Linked DNA regions of Homo sapiens: region 2 is linked to region 1. The links are contacts of gene promoters, found by promoter capture Hi-C in blood cells and fetal thymus (Javierre and others, 2016). All regions are on one chromosome and are shown on one strand. Each heading gives the region's core, a stretch centred on a gene start or on the middle of the fragment in contact. The rest is flanking DNA. Distances are from core to core; before and after follow the strand shown. Region 1 holds the start of FAM83H (family with sequence similarity 83 member H). Region 2 holds the start of MROH6 (maestro heat like repeat family member 6).

What was found. The method cuts DNA at HindIII sites, captures the fragments that hold promoters and counts their contacts. A CHiCAGO score of 5 or more calls a contact.
Region 2: a contact is called between the fragment with the promoter of MROH6 here and the fragment with the promoter of FAM83H in region 1, in 1 of 17 cell types (erythroblasts). The highest score is 6.4, in erythroblasts.

Annotation. Positions count from the first base shown.
Region 1 is chr8:143,732,209-143,739,082 of GRCh38, reverse strand. FAM83H (family with sequence similarity 83 member H) reads left to right here and starts at 5,304. Exons shown (of 5, transcript NM_198488.5): 1 at 5,304-5,392. IQANK1 (IQ motif and ankyrin repeat containing 1) reads right to left here and starts at 4,944. Exons shown (of 14, transcript NM_001381874.1): 1 at 4,864-4,944; 2 at 3,145-3,233. The coding sequence starts at 3,229. It overlaps MIR4664 (microRNA 4664), which reads left to right and starts at 5,930; the gene lies at 5,930-6,000. RefSeq lists enhancers at 453-1,318, 6,070-6,364 and a silencer at 6,241-6,451. The HindIII fragment of the contact is 7,630 bases long and covers 3,420-6,874 here.
Region 2 is chr8:143,570,622-143,574,269 of GRCh38, reverse strand. It overlaps MROH6 (maestro heat like repeat family member 6), which reads left to right and starts at 1,498. Exons shown (of 14, transcript NM_001100878.2): 1 at 1,498-1,849; 2 at 2,085-2,237; 3 at 2,449-2,603; 4 at 3,276-3,393; 5 at 3,613-3,648. The coding sequence starts at 1,556. It also overlaps a transcript of NAPRT not described here. RefSeq lists an enhancer at 2,140-2,989. The HindIII fragment of the contact is 15,945 bases long and covers 1-3,648 here.

The sequences.
Region 1 (6,874 bases), core at 4,055-6,554:
CGCCCCACCTCCATGACCGCCAGGACTTTCCTCGGGGCCCCACATCAGTTCACAAAGTGCCACGCAGGGCTTTGAGGGCCCAGTCTCTCCAGCCAGCCGCAGTGCAGTGGCCCGAACCCTGCCCTAGCTCCCACCGGGTCCCTGGGTCCTTTGTCTCCACCAAACCCCAGCGGGGCTCCTGTGGGCGTGCTAGCTGCCCTGGAGCCCTCCAGAGTGCATGGGCTGCGGGTTCCCATGGCCAGCTGGGCTCAGGTTGTCTGTGGCCAGGGAGGGTCTGGGCCCTGAGGGTCAGTGCGACCAGGATGCAGCTCCTGGCCCTGTGGCCTGCAGTTTGAGTTTCCCTCGACCAGCTGTGGGACCGGGGGAGCCGGGATGGGGCGGGGGCGGGGGGCATTGGTGCCGCCCAGGGCAGGACCAGGCACGCCCGTTGCTGCGCACAGCAGGCACTCTGGCTGCTGCGCTGCCTCCTCCAGCTTCTCAGCCTCCCTCCCAGTCTCGCCGGCAGGGCCCGTGGCCTGTAAAGCCCCGTGCCGCCGTGTCAGCGCGTTAGTCAGCCTCTCAGCCCAGGCGAGCCACCGCGCCGTGGAGTCCCTATAAACTCCCTGGCGTGGCCTGGCCCCACCGAGTGGGGTCAGTGAGGCCCATAGGCAGAGCCAGAGTCCCGAGCTGCGGTGCTGCGGGCTCCAGCAAGGGGCAGGACCTGGAACAGGGGGCCAAGCCTGGCGTGGGAGCACACGGCCACTGTAGCCTCCAGGGACGCCCTCTGAGCTGGCCTGAGGCCGGCTGGTCCATGAGCCAGGGCCCCTGGGGAGCAGACACCTGGTGAAGGAGGCGCTGGATCCAGGGCCATGTCTGGGAAACGAAGTCGAGTTCGCAAACCCCGGGCCAGGAGGGCAGGCAGGGCCCAGCCGGCAGCTGGGCAGCAGGGCCCTGAGGTCGAGCCCCCGCCCCCCACCCCAGGGGGCCCTCAGGGTGAAGCGGGGGTGGCCCCTACAGGGCACGTGACCAGCATCGAGCCAGCACCTCAGGGACACCCCAGGGTGGCCAGGCCAGAGCAGCCACAGGCAGCCTCGAGACCGGTGCCGGCCACTGCTCCGGGGTCTGAGCTGGTGCTGGTCCTTGCTGGGCACATGGAAGGCTGTGGAGCAGGGGACCCCATGCCGGCCCTGGGCCCCGAACTGCTGAGGCTCCATGAGGTCCAGCTGTGCCTGGCCCAGGAGCAGCTGCTGCTGGAGGACCGGTGGCGGCAGGTCCAGCTGCAGATGCAGCTGTGGCGGGAGGAGCAGCTATGGCTGCAGCAGCTACAGGAGGAGCAGCTGTGGCTGCAGCAGCTACAGGAGGAGCAGGCCTGGGTACACGTGGAGGGGCTGCAGCTGGCCGTGGCCCTGGAGCAGCTCCGGAGTGAGGGCTTCGAAGCACTGCAGACCCAAGGCCAGGTAAGGCCTGGATGGGGTGGCGGGAGGGGTCCCGGACTGTTGTGTTGGTGCGGTGGCCACTGCAGCAACCTAGGGATGCCTGTGGAGGCCCAGGAAGCCAGGCTGGATGCAGGGTATCTGTGGGCCCATCTTCACATCTGCCAAGTGAAGCCGGTGCCCGCCACACAGGGCACTGCAAGACCAAGGGACAGCAAGCCTGCCCAGGCTGGCCCAATGCTTGGTGGAAATGGGCACTGAGGGCAGATACTTGTTCAGGGACAGAGGTGTCCCTGCAGCAGACCCAGGCATGCTGGGCCAGAGCCGTCCAGGGCAGTGTATGGGCTGCGGTGCAGGGCGAAGGCCTGGGTGTGCAGTCAGTAGGTAGCAGAACTGAAGAGCACAGCCCCCACCCCTGCAACCCAGTTTCCTGGCTGCCTTGCTGGTCCACCTGCCCTGCCCCCCGTTTATTGGAGTGCAGTGTACTCAGGGCTAGAGATTGCGGAAGCAGCATGCGGCACCTGTGCCCATTATCCTCATTCCAGGAGGGCGGCTGGCCTCAGACGCAGCTGGGGCTATTTTGGGGAACTAGGATCTAACCCCAGCCTGGCGTGGAGGAGCGGTCACCATCATCCCACCTGCTCCTGTGAATCTGGGAGCTCTCTGGCAACCAGGGGTGTTAGGCCAGGCCCACTCTAAGCAGAGGGGCAGTCTGGGGAGCAGGATGGGGTGCTCTCTTAGCAAGCACAGACCCCAGTGCAGGCCTGGGTGCTGAAGGACCCCAGATTTGCAACCTGGAATGTGTTCACAGCCAGCATAGAGAATAAATGGGAGCTGGAGCAAGGGAGTGACAACAGTGAAGGCGGGGCTGGGGTGGGGGAGGGTACTGGGGGAAGTCTCCTTCCTGACCCACAGGAAAACCCAGCCCAGGTGAGCTGTCACCATCCAACCTGGAAGTGACTATGGAGAAGGTGACTGGGAGCAAAGCCGCAGGCAGAGGGCAGCACAGGATGGCCCAGATGGAGCAGAGAGTCAGAGAACACATGCTTAGACTGAGAATCCCCAACTTGGACTCAAACCCTCCTGTTTCAAAACCCATTTTTGGCCATCTAGGCGCCTCCCACTGGCTCCTGCCCCCTTCCCACCTCCATGTGTTCCAAAGCTGGGCTTCTCTGAGTGCTACCCCTAGGCCCCCACCCCAACCCCAGGGGTATAAGATTCAGGCTTGGCCGGGCATGTGGCTCAAGCCTGTAATCCCAGCACTTTGAGAGGCCGAGGCGGGCGGATCACCTGAGGTCAGGAATTCAAGACCAGCCTGGTCAATGTGGCGAAACCCCGTCTCTACTAAAACAAAAATACAAAAATCAGCAGGGCGTGGTGGCGCACGTCCATAATCCCAGCTACTCGGGAGGCTGAAGCACAAGACTCACTTGGACCCAGGAGGCGGAGGTTGCAGTGAGGAGGGATTGCGCCATTGCACTCGACTGGGTGACAAGAGCGAGACTCCGTCTCAAAAAAAAAAAAAAAAATAGATTCAGGCTCAAGGTCTGAGATGAATGAATGGGCTCTGAACCCTCAGTCAATCACACCTAATCCCAACTCAGAGGTCCCCTAAAAGCCACTCTTGGAAGAAGGGCTCTCCTCAGAGGGGGTGTCTCTCGGTGGCTACATAGAAGGTCTCACAGGTCAGTGTCTGGGTGACAGTGCTCTGGAGGTCAGAGGGTGCACTTACCAGCAGCAGCTCTTGTCTTGGGCCCAGGGTGGAGCGTCTGCCACTTCCCAGCTGCAGCTTTGGGTCTCCCCTTCTTACTGTCCATTCTCCTGGGGGGTGGGTAGGGAAGGACCAGGGAGAGGGTGCTCAGAGTGGCAGAGGGCAGGGGCAGTGGCAGTGGGGAACAGGGCACACCATGGGCGCCTGAGTGGATGACAGCAGGAACATGGGCTCCCCTGAGGCTTCCCAGCTGGTGTCCTGTCTGCCTGCCCGCCCCGGGTGTGTGCCCAGAAGCTTGAGCCGGGATGCCTGGCAAGAGCACTTGGCCACCTCCCGTCCCCCTGGCCGTGGCTTGCCTGCCCCTCCGCCCCAGGCTCAGCCCATCCTGCCGGGCGCAGGATCTGGAGTCTAGCACTCTTCTCCCTGCCCCAAGCTGCTGGGTTGCCAGTGGGCCGGTCTTTGTTCTCACCGTAATCATGAGCATGGCCCTCTCTGCTGAAGCCTCCATGCCTCTCCACTGCCCTGGGAAGCCAGCCCACCCCTGAGCCTGCTCCCCAGCCCACCCAAGGCACTCACCCCTCCACACCCTCAGACCTTATGTGGTCCCGGCTCTGGCAGATGGTGGTGTCAGGCCCTGGAGCAACACCCCTCTCCCTAGTCCACACAGCTGACCCCCAAGTTCATTTCCCTGGGAGGCTCCTCCTGCCTGCCCCAGCCTGTCCGGGTCCTCCCCGGTGCCCCATGCCCCTCACCCGCTGCAGCACAGTTGCCTGGGCACTGGTCTGACCCCCCACCCATGTTTCCAGCATGCTGGTACCAGTGGGGTGGCACTGAGTGTTTGGGGAAAGAACAAATGAAACTGGGACTGACCCTGAAAACAGAAAATAGGATCACATGGCAAGAGGAACAAAGAGAAAGGCGACTGATGACCATCAGAAAGGGTTGAGGCAGGGCCAGTCCTTGGGGTGGGAGTGGCAGGGGCGAGGGGTGGTGGTTTGGACAGATGATCCAGTGTAGGGCAGGGCCTAAGAGGGGGAGGGGCCCTAAGTGAGGGCCTGAGGGGGACCTGGGGGACTGGAGCACCCAGGGGCAGCTCGGGGTGGTGTGTGGGGGTTGCTGTGTACATGGGGGGGCGTCTGGTATGAGGCTTGGTGTGCACACTGGGTCCCTTGTCCGTTGGGGCTTGGTTTTTGCAGAGTCCCTGTGTGTACACAGGGTTCCGTATGTGAGGGAGGTCCCCTGTGCTCTCAGAGTCAGTGTGAATATGGCATCCCCTGTTTGTGTGTGGGGTTGGTGTCTGAGAAATCTCATATGCAGGTGGGGTTCCCTAGGTGTGCGGATGTCAGCGTGTTCGTGGGTGACTGGCATGGGCAGGACTCGGTGTGCTTGTGGCTTCTGTCTTCCTGAGGAGTCTCCTGTGCTTGGGGGTTGGTGTACATGAGGCACAGGTCATTCGGGGTCCGCATGTGCATGGGGGGGTCACTGCGGCAGAGTCCCCTACAAGTGTGGGCATCGGTGTGAGGGGGTGAGGGAGAAAGATGGGGGACCCCAGGTACTTGTGGGCATCAGTGTGTGTGGTGGGGGTTGGGGTCTGGGGGTCCTCTGTGTGGGCGGGGTCCTCGTCTACGTGTGGGGCGCTGGTGCGGTGGGAGACCGGTGTGTGGTGAGGGGATCCCCTGTGCTCTCGGGGCTCCCAGACCCGGCCCCGCCCGGGGCTCGACGCCGCCCCACCGTCCTCACCTGTCGCACCTGCCTCCCCCAACTCGGCGAGGAGGCCAGAGCTCCGCCCCTGGCGTCGGGCTCGCTCGTTTCCTAGCGACTGAGCCGGAACTTCCGAGTCACCCCGACTTCCGGGGCGAGGGTCAGGGGTCAGGCTGGGAACTTTGAGCCTTGGGTCAACAGTTGGGCTCCCGGGGGTCGGGGTCTTTGAAGTGCGGGCCTCACGGTCTCCGGCGGCGCTGGGCCGGGGTCTCCGGGCGCGCGGCCGCAGGGCACGGGCGGGTCGGGGCGCGGGCCGGGGGCGCGGGCTGGGGCTGGCGGCGGGCGCGGGGCGCAGGAATGCGGGCGCGCCGCGGGTGGGGCTGCCCCGCCCCCAGGTGCTGCCCGGGCAGGCAGGAGGCAGGAGCGACGGGCGGGGCGGGGGCGGGCGCGTGAATCAGGCCGGGCGGGCCGCGGCAGGGAGTGGCTGCCGGACCGACCGGACCGCGAGGCCGCTGGGCGGCGGTCGGCTCCTGCTGCCCCTGTGCCGAGACCCCGCGCACCTGGCCAGGTAGGGCCCCCCTCCCCCGGCCCGAGCGGGGCGGGGCGAGGCGGGGGGCGGGCGCCCCTTGGCGCGGTCCCACTTGGGCTACCCTTGCGCCCACACCTGGGCCGGGGCCGCGCGACCCAGAGAGGGGCGGTGGGAGTGGAGCGCGGCCGCGTGCGCGGGGCCGGGGTGGCGGGGCTGCTCGGACAGGGGGCGCCGCTGTGCGGATATGGACGCGAGCGCCCCCGCACGACGCCGGCCCGAAAAGAGCCGAGGGGGAAGGGGCCCGGGATCCGGGTCGAGCCTGCCCGGCCGTCCCGACTCGCTCCCGCCCTCGCGGCCTAGCTGGAGTCTGGGTGCTGGGCACGGCCTGGACCCTTCCCTGGGGACATCCGCCCGGGCCGCCGTGGACTGGGGTGGCCAGGGTGCGGCCTGGATCCCCGCGTGGCGAGCAGGGCGAGTGATGGGAGTGCTGCCCCTCGCGCCCACGTTCCTGGGCTGGGGTGGGCGGATAGGGCACCCAGCGGCCGCAGCCGCGAGCTCGTAGGGTGCACTGACCCCGTTGGGGGCTGGGGTGCCCACTCCGCAAGTTATCACTGAGCGACTTCCGGTCTGTGAGCCCCGTCCTCCGCACCCCACCTTTCCGCCGCCTAGAGCCTCCGCGCCCTCCTGCGCCCATCGGAACTTGGCACAGGTTCACCCCACTTTGTGTAGGAACTCCAGATCCTTCCATGGGGTCCTCCTTCCAGATACTCAGGAACCCCACTTCCTGCCAGGGTGGAGAGGATGGGGTCCTTGAAGGCCAGCTGAGGGCCCTGACTTCGAGTCAGAGGTCAGGGGTCAGCAAGCAGAAGAGTGGATTCGTGCTGAGTCATTGCCCATGGGTGGGTTCCGCGCCCTCCCTCCCTTGGGCAGACGTTTGGTAGGCAAATGTGTGGGCATGCAGGCCACTGGGGTGCTCCATCTTGGGCTCGGGAGTGGCTGCAGCCCCGTCCATAGCCCAGGAGACACGTACCCATGAAAGGAGACGACGTGAGGAATGAAGCAGTTGGAGGTCTGGGCATCACCCTGTGAGGACGAGGCATGTCTGCTGGGAGGGCTCCTGGCCACGGGGGCTTCCACTGTCTGGATGGTCCCTGCCCCCATTACACACAGCCTGGAGCCTGGACACTGAAATCCAAAGGGACAGTGGGGGTCCTTTCTAGAGTGTCCCCCCAGTGTCGGGAAGTACCCTCAAACAACATCAGCAGGGTTGTTCCCCCTGCCCTGTATGGTCAGACACCGCCCCTACAGACAGGCTGGCAATGGTGAGTGGGCTCCTCGGCCCAGCCAGACAGGCCTACACCTCACCCCCATGTGGTTGGCCTCGATCTGCCCCTGGCACAACCAGAGCGGTGTGCCCTAACCAGCCCCATATGTCAACCATGAGGACGGTGCCCCAACAAAGAAATGTTGGGACAGCTTCTCCCAAGCCGGTTGGCATCTAGGGCTGTTGAGTGGCACCAG
Region 2 (3,648 bases), core at 249-2,748, 160 kb after region 1:
GGACACAGCTCCTGACCCAGCAGCCCACGGAAGGAGAGGAAGAATGGGGAAGAAGTTGAAGCTCCAGGAGATGACTCAGCCCCAGACACCTGGCCAGAGTGGCACTGCACGTGGCTGTGCTGGGCTGGCCCTGCCTCTGCACCAGCAAGTTCCTGATCTCAGGGTTCCGCCAGTTTGGGCAACGTGAGCTTCAAGAGGAACTGCTTGGGGGAGAGGTTCTAGGCTTGGCAGGAAGTGGAGGCTGGGGGCCTGGGCCTCTCTTGTCGAAGCAGCCTGAGGTGGCACAGACAGGCAAGGGTGTGGGGGGAATGCTGACCGCCTGGGGCACTTCCGTCTGCCCAGGCATTCCACCAGACCAGCTCACCTGGCTCCCCGGGCTTCAGGGTGGGCAGCACCACTGTGTGGTTGGCTGAGGGTGGAGGGTGGGGACTTGGAGCAGAGGCCCAGTCCAGCCAGCCCCGGGGAGTACGAGCTAGGAGAGAGATACAGACTCACACACATTGGACAGAACACACCACACCCCAGGCACCCCCAGGGCACCCGCGCACTCCGAGGGGCCCAGCCAGAGTGGCTGTATTCTTCCGTTCTTGCACTGCTGTAAAGAAATACCTGAGACTGGGTAATTTCTAAGGAAGAGAGGTTTAATTGGCCTGTGGTTCTGCAGGTACAGGAAGCATGGCTGGGGAGGCTTCAGGAAACTTACCATCTTGGTGGAAGCGGAAGCGGGCAGGTCTTACATGGCCGGAGGAAGGGGTGGGGCGGTGCCACGCACTTCCAGACAACCAGATCTTGAGAAGTCTTATCATGGGAACAGCACCAAAGGGGGAAGTTGCCCCCAGGATCCAATCACTTCCCACCAGGCCCCACCTCCAGCACTGGGGATTACGTTTCAACATGAGATTTGGCCAAGGACCCAGGACCCAGAGGGGCCTGCACAAGCTCTGGAGGGGCCACCGCTCCTCTGGTGTCTTCACTGCCCCCTCCACACCTCCGGGCTGCCCCAAGCTCACCCAGTCATGCCTGTTGCAAGGTGTCTGACAGAGCCAGCGTGCAGGGGGCGGAGCCAGCGTGCAGGGGGCGGGGCCAGCCCCTAGCCCCAGGCCCAGTGGGGAGCTGACTGCTGCTTGGGGGCTGAATCAGGCCTCGACTCAGGGTGGGGCCCAGACTCCTGGACCCTGCGAGGACCTCCTCAGAGCTGTCCACAACTGCCCTGAGCTCCCTGGTCAACAGGGGCTGGTAGTCAGGGTGGGGGCCCTTCTCCCCCTTTCTTCGTGGATCTGCCAGCTCTTGGGGATCCTGTTCTCAGGGCCCTGGTGGGTAGAGCCACACCACAGGCACTCAGGCTGCAGGTGGCCACTCCCCTCCAGCAGCCCAGGCAGGAGGGCCCCTCAAAGGCCCATTGTAGGCACGTCCGTGTGGCTCCCCAGCCCCCGCAAGCTCACGCTAGCGCACGCCACCACGCCCGTCCGTGGTCCCGCCCGGGGCGGCTTCTAGGTCAGTCCTGGGCACAACTTCGCAGGAGGAGCAGCGGCAGGTGCTGCAGGCAAGGGCCGCCATGGCTGGGGGTGTGTGGGGCCGGAGCCGGGCCCGGGAGGCTCCCGTGGGGGCTCTAACCCTGACAGCACTGACTGAAGGAATCCGGGCCAGGCAGGGGCAGCCCCAGGGACCCCCTTCCGCAGGCCCTCAGCCCAAGTCCTGGGAGGTCAAACCTGAGGCTGAGCCACAGACCCAGGCACTCACCGCCCCCTCTGAGGCAGAGCCTGGACGTGGGGCCACCGTCCCTGAAGCTGGCAGCGAGCCCTGCTCCCTCAACAGTGCCCTGGAACCAGCCCCTGAGGGGCCCCACCAGGTGACGGGGGAGGGAAGGGATGTTGTGCGAACCGGCCTGGGGGTCCTGTGGATGGTAGGTGGAAGGCGGGGTGGCAGGGGGGCGGTGCTGGCCCCGGGGGAGGTCAGCGTGAAACAGGCTGGTGAGCAACAGAGGAGCAAGGGATTTTGTAGGAAGCCAGGTGGGAGGCCGAGGGACCAGGAGGAGAGCTAGGAGAGGTTTGGGCACTTCAGACGCCCCACCCATCCTGCCCTAGGTTCCCCAGAGTTCCTGGGAGGAGGGAGTTCTTGCCGACCTCGCGTTGTACACGGCTGCCTGCCTGGAGGAGGCTGGCTTTGCAGGGACCCAGGCGACAGTGCTCACCCTGTCCTCAGCCCTGGAGGCCCGGGGCGAGCGGTTGGAGGACCAGGTCAGCCTTCACCCACTTCATGCCCTACAGAATCCTGCCGGTTCGGGCACCAAGGTGGTGGGAGGGGCCTGGAGAGCGCAGCCTGACCCTGCCATCTTCAGGCTGCTCCTGCCAGGCGGGATCAGGGTGGGGGTGGAGGTGGGGTGCAGGCCAGAGGGGAATGGACGGTGGAGGAGGCCTGACTGCTGAAGTCTGCCCCCTTCCCCACCAGGTGCATGCTCTGGTGCGTGGGCTGCTGGCGCAGGTGCCCAGCCTAGCGGAGGGGAGGCCCTGGAGGGCGGCCCTGCGAGTGCTGAGCGCACTGGCCCTGGAGCATGCGCGGGACGTGGTGTGTGCGCTGCTACCCCGCTCTCTGCCCGCCGATCGGTAACCCAACCGTCCTGGCCCTGCGGTCCCCACGCGGCTTCCTTCCCTCTTCCCGCTTGGCGGTGGAGTCTGGCCCCAGAAGAGGGAGCTGAAAAGGGGCAGGGCCTCCTTATTCCAGCCCCGCGATGACTCATGCCCCGTATCCATTCCCGCTCCCCTCATTTTTAGCTCCGCAAACTCCCCCCACACTCCTGCCACAGAGTTTCTGATGCTGGGCTCCTCTCTTGGAGCCACCTTCTATCTTCGGGTGGCCTCCCCTGGAGACCGTCCTGGGGTTGGCTCCGGAGTGGGGTGAATGAGGCTGGGGGGCTAACGTGCCTGGACACCCCTGGCTCTTTGGTTAATTGGCCCCAGAAGTTATCTTTGGTTTTATTCTCTGTGGCAATTTTTTTCTTTTTAATAATGCCAGGTTTGTTTCACTGTCGCTGACCCAACGGGACTCCCAGTGGGTCCCCACCCTGCAGCTCAGCTTGAGATAGGCTATGTTGTGGTCTGCACAATTAACCCTTCATTTGTTTCTCTGAGATTTGGGGATGGGGGGAGATGGGAGGGGTTTCCTGCCCCTCCCCTGCTGGAGTCCTACTGGCTGCCTCCACCCTGGCTGGGGACTCCCTACATTCCCTGGACACCCACCCATCTCTTGTCTCACACCAGCCCCCTCCAAACCCTCAGGGTAGCAGCCGAGCTCTGGCGCAGCCTAAGCCGTAACCAGCGTGTAAATGGGCAGGTGCTGGTGCAACTGCTGTGGGCGCTGAAGGGTGCTTCGGGGCCGGAGCCCCAGGCACTGGCGGTAGGTGGCTCCAGCCATTACCAGGGGGTGGGGGCGGGGGTGGGGGGTGGCGAGGAGCGGGGAGGATGGGCATAGGGAGTTTGCACCTAGGTAACTGCTCCTGGAATGTCCCATGCGTGTCTGAGGCTGTCCCCATCCTGTTGACAGCACGCCTGTCCCTCTGCTGCCCAGTGCAGCTCCAGGCGTGCCCCAGGCCTGAGTGGGCCACTTGCTCCACAGGCCACACGTGCTCTTGGGGAGATGCTGGCTGTTTCG